5 separate regions of the Homo sapiens genome follow, and regions 2, 3, 4 and 5 are each linked to region 1. Evidence: promoter capture Hi-C in 16 types of primary human blood cells and fetal thymus (Javierre and others, 2016). All regions are on one chromosome and are shown on one strand. The core of a region is centred on a gene start or on the middle of the fragment in contact, and the rest is flanking DNA. Distances in the headings are between cores, read along the strand shown.

Evidence for each region. The method cuts DNA at HindIII sites, captures the fragments that hold promoters and counts their contacts. A CHiCAGO score of 5 or more calls a contact.
Region 2: a contact is called between a fragment that was not itself captured here and the fragment with the promoter of KCNE5 in region 1, in 2 of 17 cell types (neutrophils and activated CD4 T cells). The highest score is 6.9, in neutrophils.
Region 3: a fragment that was not itself captured here is called in contact with the fragment with the promoter of KCNE5 in region 1 in 1 of 17 cell types (activated CD4 T cells); the score reaches 7.4 in activated CD4 T cells.
Region 4: a contact is called between a fragment that was not itself captured here and the fragment with the promoter of KCNE5 in region 1, in 2 of 17 cell types (neutrophils and naive B cells). The highest score is 6.3, in neutrophils.
Region 5: a contact is called between the fragment with the promoter of GUCY2F here and the fragment with the promoter of KCNE5 in region 1, in 15 of 17 cell types (naive B cells, M2 macrophages, M1 macrophages and 12 more). The highest score is 15.7, in naive B cells.

Annotation. Positions count from the first base shown.
Region 1 is chrX:109,622,761-109,627,428 of GRCh38, reverse strand. It overlaps KCNE5 (potassium voltage-gated channel subfamily E regulatory subunit 5), which reads left to right and starts at 2,257. Exons shown (of 1, transcript NM_012282.4): 1 at 2,257-3,729. The coding sequence starts at 2,409. The coding sequence ends at 2,837. The HindIII fragment of the contact is 6,764 bases long and covers 1-4,668 here.
Region 2 is chrX:109,859,353-109,864,020 of GRCh38, reverse strand. No RefSeq gene overlaps it. Among named protein-coding and RNA genes, the nearest start is that of ACSL4, 130 kb to the right of the region's middle. The HindIII fragment of the contact is 4,679 bases long and covers 274-4,668 here.
Region 3 is chrX:109,835,294-109,839,961 of GRCh38, reverse strand. No RefSeq gene overlaps it. Among named protein-coding and RNA genes, the nearest start is that of ACSL4, 100 kb to the right of the region's middle. The HindIII fragment of the contact is 3,036 bases long and covers 1,279-4,314 here.
Region 4 is chrX:109,463,837-109,468,504 of GRCh38, reverse strand. GUCY2F (guanylate cyclase 2F, retinal) reads left to right here. Exons shown (of 20, transcript NM_001522.3): 3 at 3,062-3,363. Among named protein-coding and RNA genes, the nearest start is that of GUCY2F, 16 kb to the left of the region's middle. The HindIII fragment of the contact is 4,267 bases long and covers 366-4,632 here.
Region 5 is chrX:109,479,556-109,484,223 of GRCh38, reverse strand. It overlaps GUCY2F (guanylate cyclase 2F, retinal), which reads left to right and starts at 2,138. Exons shown (of 20, transcript NM_001522.3): 1 at 2,138-2,358. The HindIII fragment of the contact is 1,102 bases long and covers 1,479-2,580 here.

The DNA of each region.
Region 1 (4,668 bases), core at 1,008-3,507:
GTGGGAAAATGGAGGTAGCTCATGAATACCACCCATTTGACACAAGTAATGTGTGAGGACTGAGAAGAAGAAGGTCAAACTTTATAATTCCAGTCCTGCTACTTAACCAGTCTGAACCTCAGTTTCCTCTTTGGAAAATGAGAATCCTATTAGCTCATAAGGCTGTTGAAATTAGAAAACAAGTTTAAATGATTATTTGTATGTTACAGTAAAGGGGTTTCTTCCTCCTTTCCTCTCAAAAAAAAAAAAAAAAACCCTAGCTATTTCTAGGTATATGTTAACACAGCAGTCCTCAACCTTTTTGGCACCAGAGACTGGTTTTGTGGAAGACAATTTTTTTCATGGACACTGGGGAGGGGTGGATAGTTTCAGGATGAAACTGTTTCACTTCAGATCATCAGGCATTAGATTCTCATAAAGAGCATGCAATTGTAGATCCATGGCATGCGCAGTTCACAATACGGTTTGAGCTCTTCTGAGACTCTAATGCCACTGCTGATCTGACAGGAGGTGTAGCTCAGGCGATAATGCTCACTTGCCCTCTGCTCACCTCTTTCTGTGCGGCTGGTTCCTAACAGGCCAAGGTCCAGCAGCCTGGGAGGTTGGGGACTCCTGTTTTAACAGATAAGAGAAGTCTTTTTAGCTCAACAGTCATATCACTAGGTTAGCAGTGCTTTGAAAATTCTCTGGCTGTGTCCTCTGGCATTCATCCTGCCAAGTTGCTTTAACAATTCTTTCCTGAGGCCCTCTGAGGTGAGAATATTGAGGCAAGGTGATTAGAAGGGAGCCAGTGTCAGGGTCATGTGGAATGTCTCTGAGGCCTGTTTAGAGGCTGTGAAGCAAGGCTCTGTTTGAGACCCTGGATACAGTTTGGTGCCAACCTCACCTGAACACACAGAAGGCTACAGCCCCTGGGTGGATGGTGGGCTGAAGAACGGTTGGGGAAGAGGCATCGGAAAACCTTCCTTTTTTAACCCATGGCACCTATAGATTGAATGGTCCCTGGACTGAACGGTCTTGAACAGGCAGCATTATTTTCAAGGTGTGCCTAAGGTCATACACTTTTCTTGCTTTCTGCTCTCATTTGGCAACTATGGACAACCAGACCTAGCCAGCACTACCTCATTTTTTCTACCCCACCATCTACAAACCAACCCTTTTCCTTTGTGAAGCTCAGTCTGTTTCCAATTTAACATATCTGGCCTGATCTTTGTCTTGGTGCCTTGTTTTCCCCTAAAAAAAGACAGCCTTTGAGAAAAAAATGGCTGCCCTAAAAGCCATTAGGGCCTAGACCTGTTACCAAGTCTAGAGAGGCACACAGCTGTTTGCTGGCCTAACTGGGAGTAGGGTGAGCATATTCTCTAGAACTGGCACTTTTCAGATCCCGAGATATCCACAGAGTGTAGTCAAAGGGCCTTTTAAAATGTGCATGCTACTCTTATTGGAAGAACTTGGTTTCACTTCTGGGAAGATGGCTTACTTACCCATGGGAAACAGGCTCCCATTATGAATAGTACATTCATGTGCTAAGATGTGTTGACTTTTCAAAAAGTGTCATAGGACATCAGAGCAGGGGTGCTTCCAAGAAGGTGTAATATCACTTATATCACCAGAAACCATTTTGGATAACCAGGGAGTTCTACTCTGCCTTGGCCTTCTAGCAGGTGCCTGAGCACTCAGTCACCAAATTCAGCCTGAGCATCTTCTGAATAAGATGCTCTCCTCCGACAAGGTGGGAGGGGGGTGAAAAGGGGGGCGGGGGGAAAAGGAAAGGAATGAGGACTAGAAAGATAGGCCTGGGTCCCTGTATATGGGAGTAACTTCCATAAAATGTGGACAAGGGGTCTCTGCTGCGGAAAGGCGTCTGCCCTCTCCCTTGAGCGCCCCAAGGCAGAGCTGCCTTAGGGGGCCAAATGCTGTATCTGGGCCAAAGCCTGGCCTGCAGGGCAGGTGGCCAGAACTTGGAAGGAATTCTCTTCCGCAGCCCAGGGTCCAGGCTTGGCCCCAGCAAGCTGCCCTGCCAGCGTCTGCTGCCTGGGGCCTCGCGCATTCCGAGCCCCCGCCCCCTCCGCCCGTCTCCCAGCCTCGCCCCCACTCTTGTCCCCTTCTCCTCCCCCCACCAGCTGTCCCCTTTCCCTGGAGCAGCGAGACAGCCAGAGCCTGGGAAGAGGCGGCCGCGGGCCGGAGGGGGCGTGGTGGGGAAGGGGAGGAGGGGCGGGAGTGAGGGAATAAGGAGGCCCCGCCGTCGGCGCCCCCAGCCACTGCGCGCTCGCCGGAGAGCTGGGTGCTACCGCTGTTTCCGCTGCTGAGCCCTGCCCGCCGGCCGGCCCGCTCGCTAGCTCGCTTCCCCTCGCCCAGGGGGAAAGGTCAGCAGCGTCCTGGAGCCGCCGTGTCACTCCCCGAAAGCCATGAACTGCAGCGAGAGCCAGCGGCTGCGAACCCTTCTGAGCCGCCTGTTGCTCGAGCTGCACCACCGGGGTAATGCCAGCGGCTTGGGCGCTGGCCCTCGTCCCAGCATGGGCATGGGGGTCGTGCCTGACCCTTTCGTGGGCCGCGAGGTGACCAGCGCCAAGGGCGACGACGCCTATCTCTACATCCTGCTCATCATGATCTTCTACGCCTGCTTGGCCGGAGGCCTCATCCTGGCCTACACCCGCTCCCGTAAGCTCGTCGAGGCCAAGGACGAGCCGTCCCAGGCTTGCGCCGAGCACGAATGGGCCCCGGGAGGCGCCCTGACCGCCGACGCCGAGGCTGCCGCGGGCTCCCAGGCCGAGGGCCGCCGCCAGCTTGCCTCCGAGGGGCTGCCTGCCCTCGCCCAGGGCGCTGAGCGGGTCTAAAACCACAGCCCCAGATTGCTGGTTCGCGCCCTCCTCATCTCGCTCATCCCTGGGCGCGCCTCCCACCTTCCACCCCCAACTCCCTTCCAGGGTTCGCCTCATCTGAGGCCCAGATAATGGTGAGAGGCCAGGAGACCTTGTCTGGAAGGCCCTGGAAGGAGAAGCACCACCTTACCCATTCGGGCCAGTTTCTCCCTCTTCACCCCTGCGCCTCCACCCCTACCCCGCACATCCAACTGCACTAAACTGCCTCTGCTCTCTTGTCTTCAGACAGCCCTGACAGCACGCTCCAGCCCTCTGGGAACTGAATCCAACACGTCCAACACTTGGCACTGAACTGAAGCAATGCATTCTATCAGAACTCTGGGCCGTCTAACTGGCAGCTGCTCCAGGGGCTGCCAGGGACTGCTCACTCTGCAGAGCCAACGGGCTTGCCAGGCCGACTGCAGCAGCTCCAGCTTCCAGTTGCCTTAGGGACAGAGACAAAGGAAATGAAGAGACCTCAGACATCTTTTCCCTCCCTCTCTCTTTCAGCAGGGAGCTAGCAGGACACTAGGACCAGTCTGTGGGATAGAATGAACTTAATGGGGGACGGAAGGGGGAGGAGTGCTCAACGGGGAGGGAAATGATCTATGACTCCAACCGTATGATTTTCTTGCCTCCCCAGTTTTCATCCCAGTGGTAACGCCTGATTTTTGGTAGCTATGCCATCTTCTGCTGAGGATTACCATTACTGGGTGTATCACCCCAGTACTTCCAAATGCCTCTCCTCTATTGATTCAGTTGTTATTGCAGTGTCTGCTTCATCCGTGGAACTTGAGGCTCAGATGCCCCCTGCTCTGTAACCCTGGGGAATGTCAGAGGCAGGTAATAAAGGTTGTTTAAACAATAACGCAAGACTCTTCTCTCAGAGATTCCAGCCTTAAGACCCAGTACCATATGGAGAAGGAATCCTTTTTCTTTTGCTTTTGGAAATGATGTTTGGATTTGGGGGTTGGGTGGTTGTGATATTTATATCTATGTAACCAGTTCCAATTTGATATGTGTGATTATGGGTGAAGAAAATGTTTATATGGCTAAATGGGTTGTTTTTTCAAGTGTTTCAAAAGTTATACCTACTTTATTACTTATCCCTCCTTTTTTCTTATTTCTGAAGCACTTTCAAAGATCACAATGCAGTCTTTCAGGATGCACTTTAAAAAACCTTTAAGGCCCATCCCTTTTAGCTATTATCAAACCTAATTTTTAGAAGCCACCTTAATAATTGTTTTTATTTTACTTTTTTTGAGACAGAGTCTCACTGTGTCACCCAGGCTGGAGTACAGTGGCACAATCAAGGCTTACTGAAGCCTCTGCCTCCTGGGTTCAAGCGATTCTCCTGCCTCAGCCTCCCAAGTAGCCTCCTGAGTAGCTGGGATTACAGATGTGCCCCATCATGCCCAGTTAATTTTTGTATTTTTAGTAGAGACGGGGGGTTTCACCATGTTGGCCAGGAGGTTCTCAAACTCCTGACCTCAAGTGATCCGCCTGTCTCGGCCTCCCAAAGTGCTGGGATTACAGGTGTGAGCCACTGCACCTAGCCAATAACTTTTTTGAAGTGGCTTATTAAAAGACAAGGAAGCCACCAAATAGTGTAAATCTGAAGTCAAAGAGAAAATTCTTGAACTGAGCAATCTTAACCAATGATGGGTAAAGTTAGAGGTGTGTGTTGTATTGATTTATTCTCCTTGTCTCAAGAAGGTTGTCAGAAACTTCCCTGCTTACAGCTGAAATGCTTATATCTGATGATGGCTGTTTGGGCTTCATCAACCACACATAAAATCACCTCTTA
Region 2 (4,668 bases), core at 1,364-3,863, 240 kb before region 1:
CAGTAGCTGTTTAACCTCCAGGGACCCAGTTATTCCCCAAGTTCCCACAGACACAAACCTAGGTTGTTTCTTCAGAAATGCTGCCCCTGAGGCATTTCTGTCTTACTTTAGGCCATGAATAACTAGGCATCAAGTGTGAGGAATGGGAGGAAACTCAGGAGCAGCTACTAAAATTTTGCTCTCAGGCCCAAGAGTGTTAAAAGTTGGCCTTTCTTGCTGCTTAAGGTAATCATCAGAAAGTGAGCTGTATCTTCTCTGAGGTTCCCAAAAGCTTGCAAGGAACCTCCAGGAAACTCTAGCTTAGCCTTAGCCCTTGATGTTTAACACTGACGTGTGAACCTTGACCTAACTTTGTTTTCAGAACACTAACCAAGATGGCTTTGGTCTCCCAGTGATTTATTTGTTAAGTCCTTGGAGTTCCAAAGCCAATTGCTTAGAACTTCTTCAGGGAAGTAGGACAGATCCCAGTTAACTCCAAGTTTCAAGAACCTCTTGCCTTGCATGGGCTTTTATGATATAGTCAGCCAGTCTCCCTGACCCATAGGATTTATTTCTGTTTTCTCTTCTGAATCCACCAAGTGAGTGGTTATGAGTAGGTGCAGTCTCAGCTAATCCCCAGGCCGGGCAAATCTGACCCATTGGATCACATAAGTCTGAGAAGCCTCTCTTCCAGTCCCTGCTAAAATGATCTTCAATGCCCCCTAGTTGCCAGAGGCTAGGAAATGAGTTATTGTGGACACTCTTGCTCCACAATTACTGGGACCCGAGAACTCCTAGAATCTTCTCTTATGGGCTGTTGTTTCCTCTGGTTCACAGAAGCAGCTTTTCCAAGAGGCCCTTGAGTGCTGGCTCAGAAGGGGAGGGTTCTCTCAGCTAGGGAGCACAGCACCAGCTTTGGGGCTCTCACCAGCAGAGAAGGCCCTTGGGCCAGGTCAGAGCCAAGGTAGGATCCCCAAGCCCAGTGGAGTGATTCCTACTCCAGCTATACATAAGGAAACTCAGGAGAGGGACACCAGAGTCAGGGTCTGTCCCTGAGAGAGAGAAGTTACTTGCCCACTGACACTGTTGAGTACATTTCTCCTCCTTGCCCTTTATGTCTCCTATGCAATGGCCAGCCATAGCCCCTATGTTGCTTTCAAAGCTAATTATGAGTGTCAGTTTGACACCAGAACAAAGAGTTAACAAGACAGTTAGTTTCTGATTATACTAGAGCCAGCGGCCACTCTATCTGTATGGCCTGGGGTCTCAGGAATGCCAGTGTCTCAGGCAACAGGTCTGGTGATGGATACCCTTGCAACTGCCTAGGAGAGCTTAAAGGATTACTCTGGAGCCTTTCATCCTGTCCCCATAACTAGTCCAGGAGCCAGAATTTATAAGAACAGTTCTTATCTGGAGGATCTTCAGAGCTTACAGCCAGGGCTGGCAGCCAGCTGAGATCAACTCGACACCCAACCTGGGAAGCCCTGAAGCTAAAATAAAAGAAACAGTTCCAGTTGTGGCCATTGTTAGGCTAAGTGGTGAACAAACTAGCCAAAGGAAACAAGTGGTATCATCTTACAAATAAAAGAATTTATGCTTATGGTCCCAGCCTCTGGAGTCAAATAGACTTGGGTTTGAGTTCAAGCTCTGCCACTTTCTAGCTTTGTAACTCATGGCAAGCCACACAACCTCTCTGAGCCTTAGTTTCTTCATGAATAAAATGGAGACTACTGATGTACTTCCTTCACAAGGTTAATGTATTAAATGAGTCCTTGCATGCTAAGCCTTTAACACAGAACTTGACTGTAACAAGACTCCTGAAATAAGGCATAGTGTTGTTATCACGAATCTCGTTAGCCTGCTCACTGGGATATAGTGGAAAAAGAAAAGGTCGGGGGCCAACTACTAAACAGGTCAAACTGCTTGACAGTCATGCCTCATCGTGCCACCGTGGAGATTTCCAGATACTGTTAGTGATGGAGTCCTTGTTTTCTCTTATAGTCCATGTGACCTGAGTTGCAGGTGCCTCCAGAAGTGTAGAATATGTAGAATACTCATTTATGTGCTTTATTCCTACCCTGATATCACTGAATGTTGTCACTTGTAGTCCAAGGGCCTTTCCCCCAAACCCAGGCTCCTGTTTTCTCTCTTAGCCCATGTGACCTGAGGTGTGGGTGGCTGCCTCTAGGACTGATAAGATATAAGATAGTATAAGCATTATTTTCCAAGTTTAAGGACAGAATAGGTGGGTGGCACAAGCCAAGAATGATTCAGTGACATTTCCTGACCAGGCCTGGCTTGTCATTAAGGAATTTCTTCAGAAGTAACTAGGCAGCCTTAAAAATACAGATTCCTTGGCTTATCCTCAAAGATTCTGCTGCAACAAGTCTGGAGTAGAATTCAGGATTGAATAAACTCCCAAGAGGAATCTGATGCACAGCCATGCTTGAGAACAGTTAAATTGTATAAATGCCTCTCTGAAAAAAAATAAGTCTCACACTTCAATGAGCATTGGATTTGCTTGGTGGGGTGGGATTTGTTAAGATACAGATTTCTGGACTCATCCACTAGATCTTCTGATCTTGTAGTTCCAGGGTAGGCTTCAGACATCTGAATTTTTAACCAGTGCCTTCAGGTAACTCAGGTCTAGGGGAAATAATTGCTTCCTTTGTGATCATTCCTGGCTAGTACAACCCAAAGATTTTCCAGAGATTTTCTCATTCTTGCCATAATAAAAAATAAATGGTAAACAAAAGTATTTTATTTTAGATCATTATATTATTGAAGATTGCATTAGCTATCTATTACTTCAAAGCAAATTACCCCAAAATCAGTAGCTTAAGACAACATTTATTATCTCATGGTATCTGTGGGTCAGCAACTTGAGCATGGTGTAGTTGGATGTCTCTGGCTTAGGGTCTCTCAGAAGGCTGCAATCAAGGTGCAGTGCATGGTCTGTGGTCTCATCTGAAGGCTCAGCTTGGGGAAGGATCTGCTTCCAAACTCACTTCTGTGGTAGCTAGAAGGATTCAGTCCTCTCTGGCTGTTGGCCAGAGACATCAGTTCCTTACCATGTGGACCTCTCCATAGGGCAGCTCACAGCTCATAAAATGGCAGTTGACTTCCTTCAGAATGAGCAAAGGAGAGAGAAAAAGAAAGCAAGGGAGAAATCATAACTTAGTCTCAAAAGTGTAGTCCCATTACTTTTGCCATATTCTCTTAGGAGCAAGTAACTAGATTCAGCCCACATGCATGGGGTTGGGATTACACAAGGGCCTAAATACCAGGAGGTGGGAATCACTGGGGCAATCTCAGAGGCTTCCTACCACAATGCTAACATTTTAAAAATACATTTTAATGCAATTTTTAATATTATTTAAAATATAGGAAAAATTGATTTATCTTATTTGAGTGATGCAAACTGTTTAAAGTATGCAAAATGAACATAATTTTTGACAACTATAAACATAATATTACAGTATGTTTTATTTGGAGACTGAATGTATATTAAAATGTCAAAAGCAGTTACGTATTATGGCATCAAAACTAGACAAAAACTGCTTTCATGTCATGCTGTTTGAAATTGTTGCATTTTGTATTGTAAAGATAAGTTCACATATTTACATAATTTTAGTATTTTGTTTCTAAATGAAGACATTAGAAGAAAATACTATTTCTCCAGACTTTCTTCACCAATAACATAGCAAATGTGTTTATTCTTTTTTCCCCAAGAAATGTAGAGCCAAATTAGATATAATTGTTACTATACCTTTAGTTTTGCCATTGATGTTTAAAGTGTGAGAGATAGCTTAATGTACTATATAATTTTTAAAATCAGATTGTTATCACTTAGGAATCTGATAAACAGCAGTTTCAGACAATATATTGGTTTACTAGGGCTTCCATAACAAAGTACCACAGACTGAGTGGCTTAAACAACAGACATTTATTTTCTCACAATTCTGGAGACTAGGTGCCAAGATCAAGGAGTTGGCAGGATTGGTTTCTTCTGTGGCCTCTTTCCTTGGCTTGGAGATAGTTGTCTTCTCCCTGTGTCTTCATGGTCTCCTCTCTGTGTGTGTCTGTGTTCAAATTTCCTCCTCTTATAAGGACAGCAGTCATAGTGGATTAGGGCCTGCCCTAATGACCTCATTTTAACTTAATTACCTCTTAAAAGACCTTATCTCTAAACACAGACACATTCGGAAGTACTTGAAGTTAGGACTTCAACATATGCATTTGTTGTGGGGTAGGGAACACAATTCAGCTCATACAAAAACGAATTTTCAGAATCACTATCATTCTTATCATCCTTATTCACTTGCATTTCAACAGCAGTCCTGTGTTTCTTGTCTTTAGCCAACAATCCACTGTGGGCATAAATGAAAGAATACATGACTATAAATTTAAAAAATGCGTAACTGTATGATTATCAAATCGCCAGGCTAGCCTGCAATAACTAAGTGATAAAACAAGCCGAATAATAGGAGTTTGAACATGGTAGTCCAAGATCCACTAATTGCCAGATGGTCAACTCTTGAGCACCATGAACCTCACTCTGAAATAGGAGAGGAAGATTAGCAGTAAAGCAGAATAAGGCACCGGAGCCAGCGAGTGCATAGCTCCTCAAGAAACCCAAAAGCCTCCCAATTTAAATTGCTACAAAAGTCTCCACCTACTTCCACCTTC
Region 3 (4,668 bases), core at 1,547-4,046, 210 kb before region 1:
GGTGGTCAGGGATACTTGCTTAAGGCATGCCTTTCTCTCTTTCTCTTATAAAATTTCTCTTGATCTATACTATTTTTCTCAATCCTCTTTTGAATGACTAAAACAGGTCAAATAATCAAATCCAGGTTTGAGTGATGATGGCAGATAGATAATATCTCGCTTTGCTACTTTTCTCAGGCAATTTATGCATTTTCAAAGGATCCTACAATATGTTAGCCCATGTATTGGCACACTTTTTCTGTAAAAGGCCAAATAGTAAATATTTTAGGCTTTGCAGGCCATACTGTCTTTGTTGCAACTATTTAACTCAGCTGTTGCAGTCTGACATCAGCAATAGACAATTCATAAACAAATTGGAGTAGCTCTGTTCCAATAAAGAAATAAACCGAATATCATGTTTTCATGTCACAAAATATTATTCATCTCTTGTTTTTTTTTCAACCATGTAAAAATGTAAAAAAATTCTTAGCTTGGACATACAAACAAAACAAAACAAAACAACACAAAAAAACAGGAGGCGGTCTAGATTTGGTCCGTGGGCTGTAGTTTCCCAACTGATGCCTTATGAAAGGATTGATTCAAATGAGAGTTTCACATAGTGCTGTAAGTTGAATGGGATGTGGAGAGAGAGCTTTTTAGAATGGGATTAGGGACAACCTCGCCATCCTCTTCAAATCACACCAACTAGGTACACTGTTGCATGCTTGCTATTTCATTCAATACATATTTCTAAGGAACTATATATGCCAAGCACTGTGCTAGGTACTATGTAATGCAATTATCATTAATAGAATAAAATAGATGTTGTCTATGCCCCTATAGAGTTTAAAGTACAATGGGGGAGACAGATAATCAACAAGAAAATAGCCAATAAACATATCTTTTCAAGTTATGATAGATGTATGAAGAAAACACAGGAGAGAAGTTGCATAGGATGACAGGGGAGCATACTTAAAAATTGCAGTCAGGGAAGGAAGTTTTGCATATGGAGAGGTTTTTGCTAAAAAATTAGTCTGGTGAAGAGAAGCAAGGAGTAGGGGAAATAAAGTAAATTCCAGGCAGCATGCAGAAAAATCAGCATGTGTAAGGAGCCTGAGACAGGAAAGAGCTTACCTTGCTCACAGACCTGAAAGTAGACATATAACTAGTAGTATTGGAGGAAAGTGGCTACAGAGGAGATGGAAGAAGTAGACAAAGTCCAGGTTATTTACAGCTTTGTAGTCCATAGAAAGGAGCATGGGCTTCATTTAAAATGCAAGGGAAACTCTTTTAAAAGCTTAATCTGGCTAATGTGTGCAGAATAGACTGCAGGGAAGGGGAGAGCATAAACTGGGTAATCAGTTAAGCATTCATTACAGTAGTATAGGCAAGAAGTGATGGTGGCTTACAGTAGGGTATTGGCAATGAAAATTTAAAAAGAGTGGACATGTATGAGATTTTTGGCAGAGGAGCTAGAAACTATGGAACTTGCTGATTAGATGTTGGAGATGAGAGAGATAGCAGAATCCAAAACAATTTGCTGTTTCTGGCTTCAATAGCCTGGTAGATGGTTGTTCCTTTTGATGAGATAGGAAAGACTGGGAAAGGAAATTATATTTGGGGAATGGGAGGTAGGGAAGATGGTACGAATAAAGAGTTCTATTTTGGGGCAGGTTAAGTCTAAGATGCCTTTGAGATATCCAAGTAGATGTCTAGCTAGTTGGTTATGTGAGCCTACCATATAAAGGAGAGTTTGGAGTTGGGGATATAAATATGGATGAAGTCAACATATAGATGATATTTAATCCCATGGGAGTAGAGGAGATCACTCAGTGAGAGTGCAGATAGGGAAGAGAGGAAGCCCTAGAAACTAGTGCTGGGCCACTCAAAAATTTAGATATTGGATACAGGAGGAGTCCATTGGATAGAGAAGCATCTTCAAAATGGACTGAAGAGGAGTAGTCAAAGATACTGGAGAATTAAGAAAAATATGTATTGTCACAGAAGCTGAGAGAAGAGACTGTTGGAGGAGAGAGTAGTCAACTGTGTTGAATACTGGTGGAATATCAATTTAGATGAGGACAAAAGGAACACTATTGGTTTTGGTAACATGGAGGTCTTAAGTGACCTTGGCAAGAAGTTTGGGTGGGGTGGTAGCAATGGCTGAGGTGAACAGAGATGTAAGACCTGATAGGATTAGCCTTGTAAGGTCAGTTCCAGAGCTGTGATCCAGAATGCATACTTGGTGGTTTGGCAGTTTCCAAGGCAGCTACTCCCTCGGGCAGCATTAAGTGGTATGGCCCTGATGGCGTAGCATGGCTTTCTATTCTTTCACGGTGTTTTTTTTTTTTTTTTTTTTTTGAGACAGAGTCTCGCTCTGTCACCGAGGCTGGAGTGTAGTGGAACGATCTTGGCTCACTGCAACCTCCGCCTCCCAGGTTCAAGCGATTCTTGTGCCTCAGCCTCCCGAGTGGCGGGTATTACAGGCGTGAGCCACTATGCCCGGCTAATTTTTGTATTTTTAGTAGAGACTGGGTTTCACATTGGCCAGGTTGGTCTCGAACTCCCAACCTCAAATGATCTGCCCACCTTGGCCTCCCAAAGTGCTGGGATTACAGGCGTGAGCCACCACGCCTGGACTCATGGTGGGTTTTAAAAGGAAATAAATGCTCATGCATTTATTTGTTCAGTAAATATTAATTGAGCCATTAATAAGTGCCAGGTACTCTAGATGCTGGAGGTGAAGTAGGGAACAAACCCCTAAAACTTCCTGCCCTGGTGGAGCCTATATTCAACTGACTAGTAAAGCCAAATAAACAGGCAAATATAGTCAATCTCATTAAGTACTATGACATAGGAAGATACATTAGTCAAGGTAGTTCATTCTGACTTCTGTAACAAACAACCCTCACATCTCACTAGTTCAACACAATAGAAGTTTATCATTCATGTCACATGCCAATGCAGGTCAAGCAGCTCTCCTGGGATGCTCTCTTCCAAGCAGTGACTCAGGAACAAGGCCATTTTTGTCTCATGGCTCCACCATCATAGACCTCCTCAGAGTCCTCAAATGGAGCCTCTGTATTCTGTAGGTCAACAAGGAAAGATAGCTCACAGAGTATCATGCAGCATGATTTATGGCCAGACTTGAAATTGAAAGTGACCAGAAGCCAATCTAATGGCAAGGGATGCTGGGAAATATAATCTTCCTCTTTGTCCAGGAAAGAAATGGGATCGGTGAGAAACTAGTCTCCACAAGTGAAGTGTAGGTCAGAAGAAGAGCTTTTTTCTTTTCTTTCTTTCCTTCTTTCCATCTTTCTTTTTCTTTTTCTTTTTCTTTTCCTTTTTTTTTTTTTAACGGAATCTTGCTCTGTCACCAGGCTGGAGTGCAGTGGTGTGATCTTGGCTCACTGCAACCTCCTACTCCCGGGTTCAAGCGATTCTCCTTCCTCAGCCTCCCAAGTAGCTGGGACTACAGGGGTGCGCCACCACACCCAGCTAATTTTTGTATTTTTAGTAGAGACGGGGTTTCACTATGTTGGTCAGGATGGTCTTGATCTCTTGACTTCGTGATCCGCCCATCTCAGCCTCCCAAAGTGCTGAGATTAGAGGGGTGAGCCACTGCACCCGGCCAGTAGAGCTTTTAATATTTATTTAAAGTATCAGGAAAAGGTTCCTAGATGAAGTGACATCTAAGTCACCTGAAAGATGATGAAGAATTAGCCTAGTGAAGTGAGGTTAAGAATATTTCAACCCGAGGGAACAGCAGGTGCTAATGACAGAAGGTAAGAGAGAACATGGTTTATTTGAAGGACTGAATGAAGTCTGGCAAGGCCAAAGCATACAGCATGAGCTCAGAAATGGCAAGAGATGAGAATGAAAAGGAAGGGTCAATGCAAAGGTGAGTGCAGGCCTTTGGAGTGATGATTTCAAATAGAAGAGTCAAGCGATCCTACAGGGTAGCTGGTCCCTGATGAAGGCTCTGGGTAGAGGTACTAGGGCAGAGGTCTCAAACATAAAGGCCTTCAGGGGCTAAGCGGAAAAGCTGAGCACTGAAAACAGAAGAGAGCAATGGTGCCTACAGTAGGTGGAGTGTGTATTCCATGCCTAAATATATTAAATTCAAAAACAAAAACCAACCAAAAATCCACTGCACAGAACAAACTGCATCTGCTATGGATACCGTTCCTGGTCTTAAGTTTGTGGGGCCTGGTAGAAGGTTTCAAGAGAGTCTTTATAGTCACCAAGGAGTTCAGGTCAAAAATAGGAGATGGGGATACACCAGACATGTCAGGAACAAGTCTATAGTTGTCAATGTGCTGATTTGCAAAAGCTTTCATATTTCTTCCTGCTATTTTCAGTTAACTGGCTGGTAAGATTGCACATTTTTGGACAGTAATGGGATTGTATTATTTCATTCCAATAATAATAACAACAACTAAAAGGCCAGGCACTTCTTTAAGGGCTTTATTAACCCACTAAGTCCTCAAAACAACCCATGTGGTAGTTAACAATGATTATATCCATTTTTAGATGAGAAAGTTGAAAGAGTAACCTCACAGCAACTTGCCTAAGCTCACACAGTTAGAAAGTGACAAAGTAGAGATTTGAACCAAAAGCAAACTGCTTCTAGAGTCCATGCTCTTGCTAAAGTCTGGCTCTTTACAAACATTATTCTACACTGTCTTT
Region 4 (4,668 bases), core at 1,250-3,749, 160 kb after region 1:
CCAATTGTTCCTCCATCCTAACAATCAATATATGCCCATATCTCATATCTCAAGGAACCCACAAAAAATACCCAAGTGTACAAGCTCTCTTCCTGAAGAGGCTGTTAGTTTACAAACATTCATCTAAACAACATTCATTGTGTGCATAATATGTACAAGGATATGGAAATAAATAAGACACAGTTCCTGACCTCAAGGAGCTCACAGTTTGGTAGTAGAAGCTGATATAGGTAAATAACAGCAATAAATCTTGTAAGTGCCAGGATAAAAATTATCTCAGGGTAAGGTGGGGGCTCTAATCCAGTGTCACAAGTCAGTTTCCCTGGAAAGCAGCCTGTTAGATGGAGCTTTGAGTGCAGGAAGCTTACTGAATGAGTATTTTCAAGGAGAACACCTGTGAGGAAGAGAAGACAGTAGGATTGGGCAGAGAGAACTGAACTGCAGTGCAGCCACAACAAAGGCCTCAGCCAGTCTTAGAGGGGAGCTCTAGAGCTGGTATGACCCTTCAGAGTTGTCCAGAATTGAGATAAGGAGTCTGGGCTGTTCTACCTCCATGTGGAATTGTCATTAGGTTCAGTCTCACCCACAGAAAGGGGCACAGTGTGTAATAATAATTGTTTAACAGTCAGATCTTCAGATGGAAAAAAGTTTTGATTTGTAGTGTTTGCTGATTTCCATAGTGTAATCACTCCCACAGTGGTCAATTTCAAGCTAATAACATGATGTTAACTGGCTCACAAAATCTCTGAAAGTTGAACCAGCAAAAGCGAACCCCAGCACACTACTGAGAGGATGTAACCTTGAGAGAGGTGCCTTTCCTTAGCTGAGGCCAACTCTCAGAGAAAAGTCACCTATCAGCTACTAACACACCCAGCAGCTGGTGGAATGAGTGCTTCAGTGCTGAAGTGTGTATCTTGATGGCACATCACCATAGCACCTACTACGTGTAATGTATGTTAAAGTATTTGCTGTATTGCAATCAGCACCAAACACTAGTTCTATTTAACATTTTCCATGCAGTAAAGTCATTTTAATATTCCTTTAAGTAAATTAAATCAAATTGTATCACTGTTGAGTAACCTTGAACAAATCACTCAATCTCTGATTTGCAGAAGAAAGATGCTAATACTGATCTACTTGCTGAGGATACTGTTGGACAAACTGGCCAACCGAAGCCTCTGACTAAACTCATTTTCCCCGCCTCAATGGACCTATGACTATACTAATTTGACCAAACTAATTTACTTTTAATGGTTCAGCCAAATGTAGAGAGTGAGAGGTCTTCAGTTCTACTTTCTTTTTCTAAATCCAACTCTTGCATTGTCAAACATCTCTGGCACTCCATTTTCCCATGATACAATGTGTGATTATAAACAAGTGAGGCTGAATTCCTTGTGGGGCTCATGAACTAGCTCCAAAGATATCCTTCGAGAATTCTAAGGAAGGTCTGAACATCAGAATACATGTAGAACCTCTTAGCGTAATTATTTTGAAGGAGTTAATGGTCATTTGAAAACTCATGTCATGTTGTGGTGTGTGCATATGTGTGTGGTATGTTTAAATAAACTTCATAACTTATTAGTTACACTTTAAAAACTAAAAGGTACCAGCTCTAGCTCAAAGGGAAACTTTCTAGGGGTGCTTAGCAAGTGTAAAAAGGTGTTTGAAAATAGATGAAACAATATGCAAATGCCAAAGACAAGTCATTGAATGTAGTTAAGCACCCTTAGTTCTTGAGATTAAAGGTTCCATATAAACATGTATAATTAATATTTACCAGTAGCAATAGAGTCTTTGCCTTTCTTCAAGGAGCTCAGAATGCTTGCCAGGCATTATCTAATTAAACTACTCAGTGTACCTGTAAAATGCATTGGAATCTACATTTTAAAGATGTGGGCACTGAAGCACAAGTGGGCTTAAACTAAACTTATTTAGCATGCCAAGGGTAAAATTGGATATAAGACTTTCAGTCTCATGATCTAGCTGCCATTTTTCAACCGTGGCCCCCTTGAATCCACTCTATTCTAGCATAACCTTGCCAAACAACATAGTTTCATAAGTCTAGGAAGAATTAAATTGAGTCCATAGTAATTTCAATTACAGGGAAGTTAGATTTTAAAAAGTTGGACATCTCACCCATAATATTACACAGAGTACGTCCTTAATCTGAGAATCTGAAATCCGAAATGCTCCAAAATTGAAAACTTTTGAGCACCAACATGACTCTCAAAGGAAATACTCATTAAAGTATTTCAGATTTCAGATTTTTGGATTAGGGATGCTCAACAGGTAAGTATAATGCAAATATTATACTTAATATCCCAAATCTAAAAAAAGTCTGAAGTCTGAAGCACCTCTGGTCTTCAATAGTTTGTATAAGGAGTACTCAACCTGTAGTAACATTTATAGGTGAGTGAGTTAGTGCTTTTCATTGTCTATAATGACCTTGGTAAGGATGAGAACAATTGGTCAAAATGTATTAGAGTGCATGTTTGTAGGAGATGGACAATAAAAAGCAATAGTGGCTGTGGTAACATCTCCCATCCTCTCTTACTATTCTCTCTTCTAATTCTTAGGTATATAGTAGCTACTATTTATTGTGTGCTATGTACTAAGTAAATGACTTGTCTCCTTTCTTCAATCATCACTACCATCCCATAAGTATATATTGTTATCTCCATTTTATGGACGAGACAGAGAGCGGTTAAGTAATTTAAAAAAGGGTACACAGTTAAAACTGGTGGTGTTACGATGTAAAGCTGATTTTTCCAACCCTAAAGCCTCTTTTGTTATGCTACTCCCCATTGATTATACTAGTTCTTGTTCCTGTCTGAGTATTAGGCTCTGCAGCCTGTAGGCATCTCTCTCTTGTCACTATCCCCAATCCAGAGTCCATGAGCATACCTCAGCCTCAGCTCAGGACAACATCTTGCTTATCTTGGAGGCATAAGAAACCACTTACAAATTGGTTAGAACACATTTATTTTTCCTCTCTGTAGTTTTTGGTACTGTGCTTTACTAACAGTTTGCTTCCATAACCTCCTTGCTTTGTTGGTTTCAGTAATCATCATGTGTATGCATTCAGCTTTGATTGGGGGAGAGACTCAGATGCATCTCTTGGAATGTGCTCATGATCTGAAAATGACTGATGGAACCTACGTCTTTGTTCCTTATGATGCCCTGCTCTACAGTTTACCTTATAAGCACACCCCCTACCGGGTCCTAAGGAACAACCCAAAGCTCCGGGAAGCCTATGATGCAGTGTTGACCATTACAGTGGAGTCCCAAGAAAAGACCTTCTATCAAGCCTTCACAGAGGCAGCAGCAAGAGGTGAAATTCCTGAGAAGCTGGAGTTCGATCAAGTAAGTACACATTCATAGGTTGTCATGAGCTGAGAACCTAAAACATCAGCATGGTAAATTATTTTCAGACCAACAGTCTCAATTCCATAGGAGGCCCAGTCAATGGCAGGCAACCACAGACAAATTAAAAACATCTTTAGTTTGCTGAAAACATTTGTGAAACAAAGGCATATTATTTGAGATTTTGTTCTTTTATCTTTAAGCAGCCCACGATGACATTATATAGTCAGGAAGAATAAATGTATTTAAGAACAGATAAACAAAACTTTAATATATACTGGTGCTGTTCAAGGGAGCCTAATAAAAATAAGTCCTGTTTGTGGTGTAAGTTCTGAATTAATTTAACAATAAGGCAAAAGAGCTAGTATATAAGAAACTATTTCCTTTATTTTTGATAACACTGGTATTGGAGGATGCGGCTTCTACCTGTAGGCATTTGAGCTTCCCAATACTGAACCCAAGGATTAAACAAACTTCTCCATCTGGCCAATGGCATTGCTGGACCACTGCAGTCCTGCCCCATGAGGGCAGGTCTTTTTTAAAATGTGTAGTCTGGAGAGGAACAGCAGAGCATTTGCTTCTTTTAGGTAGTCTGCTCCCAAGAGAAAGAAGACAGGAGGGGCTGAGCTACACATACTTACTTCTCCTTCCAAACTAACCAGTCAGATTAATTCATTTTTCCTTTGTGGGGAGGAATGAGTAAGTGGGTGAAGACAGGCCACTTGGAATGGGGAAGAAGTCCTCCCTTCTGATATACAAGAAATAGTATTTATATGTGTGTAGATAAATGTATGTATAGGCATATTTCAGATTCCAATCATAGCCACTGAAGGCTTAGAGAAAGAAAAAGGAGTGAGGAGGGGAAGAAAGTAGAGAAAACAATGGAGAGCAAAGACAAAAACAAAGAGGATGAATACAAAGAAGACGAGGAATATGAGAGGAAGATGGGGAGACAAAAGAAGCCATTTAGATTGGAAAAAATACAGAGGGACGTTTCTGTACACTGGAGGTCAGATGTAGAAAGCAGACATTTTCAAAAGTACTTAGAACAACATACACATAAGTTTAAAAGCTCTGGCATTTGCTAGAATACTGCATTAGTCATATTGCTTCCAGCTGTAAGAAATAGCTCAATACAAAATGGTTTAAGTAATAATTCTTTTTCAAAATTTGAAGATAGGGCTTCAGGGTTGGTTAATTCAGCAGTCAATGATGTCATCAATGAAACATGTTCATCTTTCCACTTTACAAGCCATAGCATGCTAAGCTTGCCCTCATGAGCTGGTTCCTCTTATGGTCCCAAGG
Region 5 (4,668 bases), core at 889-3,388, 140 kb after region 1:
AGTATATGTAAAGTCCGTAGAGCAACAAGTGTTTGTGGAACTCTTAATCAAAAGAAGCAAATTCACTTTAGAAATTTTATTTATGTGCTAATTCCCAGCTACTTCTACCTATAAATTTAGAATCTTATGTCTATTCAGGATTTTGGAACATTCCTTGAATGATGGTCCCTTGAACATCCTAGTCCTCATCAGAACCTTCTCATAAAATCCATACTGGGGTTGCTCATGGCACCATGCAGCACTACATAGAGAATGCTAACTGGGGCCCTCACTTGCACCAGTATTTCCATCAGGTCACCTGAAATTCTACAATTAGGGATTGTTTCCTTTGGGTAGTCACGGTGTGTTTCTGGAGACTCTATTAGAGTGCAAGCAGTCTTTGGAGGGATAGCACAAGGGTGCATTAGTGGAATATATCAAGGATAAACGTGAGCTTTCTTGGAGCCAAATAGTCTTGCGTTTAAATTTTCTGGCTCTATTACTTACTAGAATTAGAGTGTCTGAGTTCAAATTCTGTCTCTACTGACCAGTGGCTGTGTGATTTTTGGTAAGTTACTGTAACCTCTCTGGATGTCTGGGAATTCAAATAGTATCTATCTCGTGGGGTCACTGTGAAGATCTAAGGAGACAGGGCTTCCAAAAATGCCTGTCACATCATTGGCACTCAGTAAGTATGATTATTGCCTAATTTATCTCAGTCTTGGCATCCTCATTTACAAAATGGAAAGAATGGGTAATATCCACCTTCATGGTTGTTGTGAACATAAAGATGTACATATAAGTATAATGTACATATAAAATGCCTGTCATACTTAAATAAAAAACTGATAGATAGTAACAAGTGTTGGTAAGAATGTAGGCAAAAAAGAACCCTCATATGTTGCTGGTGGGAATGCCAAATGGTGCATATACTTTGGAAAACAGTTTGCCAATTCAAAAAATGTTAAACATAGAGTTATTATATGACCCAGCAATTCCCTGGGTATATGCCAAAGAGAAATAAAAACAATATGTCCATATAAAAACTTTTACACAAAAGTAATAAAAGCAGTATTCATAATAGCCCAAGGTGGAAACAACCTAAATTTCCATCAACTGATCATGTGGTATACCCAAAAAAGTGGAATATTATTTGGCCACAAAAGAAATGAAGTACTGGTACAGGCTAGAACGTGCATGAACCTTGAAAACGGTTTGTTTTTCAAACAAAGTGTGTTTGGTTTTTTGTTCTTGCGATAGTTTACTGAGAATGATGATTTCCAATTTCATCCATGTCCTTCTTTCATTCAAACAAAGAAGCCACTCGCAAAAGATCACATGTTGTATGATTCCATTTATATGAAATGTTCAGAATAGGAAAATCCATAGAGAAAGTAAATTAGTGGTGGCCTGGGGCTAGGAGGAGGAGAGAAATGGGGAGTGACTTTTAAACAAGAATGGAATTTCTTTGTGGGAATAATGAAAATGTTGCACAAGCTTGTGAATATACTTTAAAAAAACCCTAAATTATATACTTTTGTGGTAGATAAATTATATCTCAATAAAACTATTATTAAAAAACATTTCTCATTTAATATAAGTCATTTTTAGCCCTTAACACCTCAGTTCTCACGTTGGGAATCCAGAACAGGGCCCTGAGTGAATGATGCCCAGGACAGAGAGGGACTTCTTAAGGAAAAGGAATACATCTAAAGTATGGGGAAACAATGTCTCTGTACAAAGGTGTAGAGGGAAGTAGGGAGTCTCTCTTGGGAGGAAAGGCAGTGAAGGCACTTAAGGGGAATAGGAGAAGGAGACAAAATTCACCTGCTTTGAATTTTGCAGGGAGCCAGCCTGGATCACCTTTTATATTCTGGGCTGGAATCACAGCTGATGAATGTTTTGGCATTTAGAACTGTCCTGGAGAAAGGGCGATTGGTGGTTATTAGACAGAATGGAACAAGGAAGAACACAGAGGCAAAATCTGAGAGTTTGTGTCTGACTTTGAAAGGTAAAAGAAGGCAGTAGTCTGTGGAGGACGTATTTATCCAGAGGACTCTATTTGTTTGTTAATCTCTGGGTCATTGCATTTAGGTCAGCACTAACTCTGCTACAGGTGGGATCAATTTAAAGGATTAGAAGTGTCACTCTAAATCCTAATCCAAGTCTTGGTCTGCGGATGCTGAAGAGTGATTTTCAAAACATTTACTAACGCTTTCAATTATTTACCCCATTAATGGAATTTGTCAACAGACTGGAGTCCTTGACAGGATTGTGAATGCATAGAGGATGCAAAGAAATGGACACACTGAGGTAGCTATGCCAGTGGTCTGCATGCGCAGGCAGTAAACTGAAGACATTTGAGCGGTGAATTACTTGGTGAGTAGTTGACAGCTCTTGTTTATAAGAAAGATTGTAATGGGGGGAAAAAAGACACAGCCCACCTGGGAGCTGAGACGCTGATTGAGATACATTAGTTTTACTGCAATATGTAGTAAAAAAAAAAATTTAAAGAATGAAGGAAAGAAGGAAAGAAGGGTTAAAGAGAGCCTTCGAGATACTTTAAGTCAAGATTTGAGCTCAAAGGCTCTCATCCAAGCTTTCGTTTAGTTTCTCTCATGATTCTTTTTTTATTGCTTCCTGATGTTGTCTTATACAAGCTGTTAACTTGATTCAGGCTGTAATTAGAAAGACAAATCAATCTTTCATAGAAGTCCTCGGCTTGACAAGCTGGTATGAGGAGCCATTTCCCTCAGAGCTATTTGTCATAGTCTTTCTTTGTACATGTTTAACGAACGGTGGTTTTCTGTGTGAAGCCAGGCTTCCCATCAGATTGTAAAAACTACCTGAAATGAAATTATGCATCCCTATGCTCTAGCCGCTTTCCATGGAAGTCTGATCCCATGCAGGTGTTCACACCTGAGTAACCTAGGCAATGGCCCCAGAACAACTGTGGGCCAGTAGTATTCTATTTCCAAAATTTCATACCTTCAAACTTTGTTTTAGTTATATCCACATTTCCCATTAACCCCAGGAAAGACTTTAGTGAGCTAATTTTTTTCCTTAAACCAAAATCAGCAGGTGGAGGTTTAGGGCATCCTCCCCCTATCTTGCCCCTTTCTTTCCCTCCCTCCCTCCCTTCCTTCCTTCCTTCCTTCCTTCCTTCCTTCCTTCCTTCCTTCCTTCCTTCCTTCCTTCCTTCTTCTCTCCCTTCATTCCTCCCTCCCCTTCTTTCCTTCCTTCTTTCTCTTCTTCCCTCCTTCCCTCTCCCTTCCTCCCCCTTCCTCTTTTCCTTCCTTCTCTCTTCCTCCCTTCCTTCCTTCCTTCCCTTCTTTTTTTCTTTTTTCTTTTTTAAAGAATAAGTTTCCTTCTGTAAAATCTTGAGTTGGGGGATCAAGACTAAATCCTACAGCAACATAAAACTTTCTGGTTGTCCAGGGAGTCCTAACAGAGTTAGAAATATCACCAAATGCATCACATCGGTACCAGAAAAAATGTAAGGGCAGACCTTCAGCTTGGGAAATGTTTATCTTGCAGTTAACAAAGGGAAAAGAGCAACAAAAACTGAGAGTGAATGCCAAGGGACACTTTGTGGCATGTGGCCTGAGGAGGGACCCGTGTTGTATGAATTTTAGAAATGGTATAAAAAATCTAACTTTTTAGAATTTGGGGTGGGCATTGTGCTTAGGAGTTACCTGGATTATAACACAAAAATGCCAGCCTTACACCTAGAATGGACAGTTAATCACTTTGATCTGAGGGGCACCAAAAGTTTCTTCATTTTTTTGCTCAAAAAGTAGTCCATCCTCCTTTGCCTACCTGCAACTGATGCTTGAAATAGACATTATATTATTAGAGATTAATTATTTTGGCATAAACTTCTCCCCAGCCCTTAAGAGAGAACAAACACCACTGGTTGGGGAGGAATACAGGAAAGTGTCAAATATTATCATTCATTTACATATTAGTGCAAATCATTTAAAGAGTTTCTTTCTTTAGAGTTGTTTTCTCTCCATTAACGAGAGGGCAGAGAGAGCTGTGCTAGAAGTCTGAAGACAAACTTTACCCCTTGATAATTTTGCCAAAGGTGGGTCTTGATTAAGGCCTAAAATAGAGCATTTTAAATAACATGGTAATACAAAACATTTTATTTGTGCTCCATATCTCCTCTTCAGTATTAATTCAACATATATTTTTTGCGCACCTACTATGTGTCAGGCACTGCGAAGGGCACTGGAGATTTAATGTTAAGCAAAAGCAAGCAGGGAACTTACTAACTTGGTTTTCTCCCTCCTGAGGTACATGCTTGCTTTTCTTGTTTAGATTTCTTGGCCAGGCCCTTATACTCTCCCATTTTTTTTTTGTAGTTAGTCTTAGCACAGACCAACTTCTCAACGTGTGTTTGTTATTAATGATAATAAGATAACCAGTGATTTTAGGAGCCCAGGTTTTCAGTGTAGCATAACTCCAGCATTGTCGGGGAGTGGGGTCTTCACATCACAGAAGCTTGACAGAGGATTCCAGGCCAAAATTAAAAATGATCAGGAACTGGATCTACCAGATAGAAGCAAGTACTTTGGGGGAATCCAACTCCAGTGAGAAGCTAATTAGAGCAGCAAAGGCTAGAAAATGTTGAATGAACTCAGCAGTTTCAAAGTGCAGAGGTTTAGAAAAGTAACTGCCTAGACA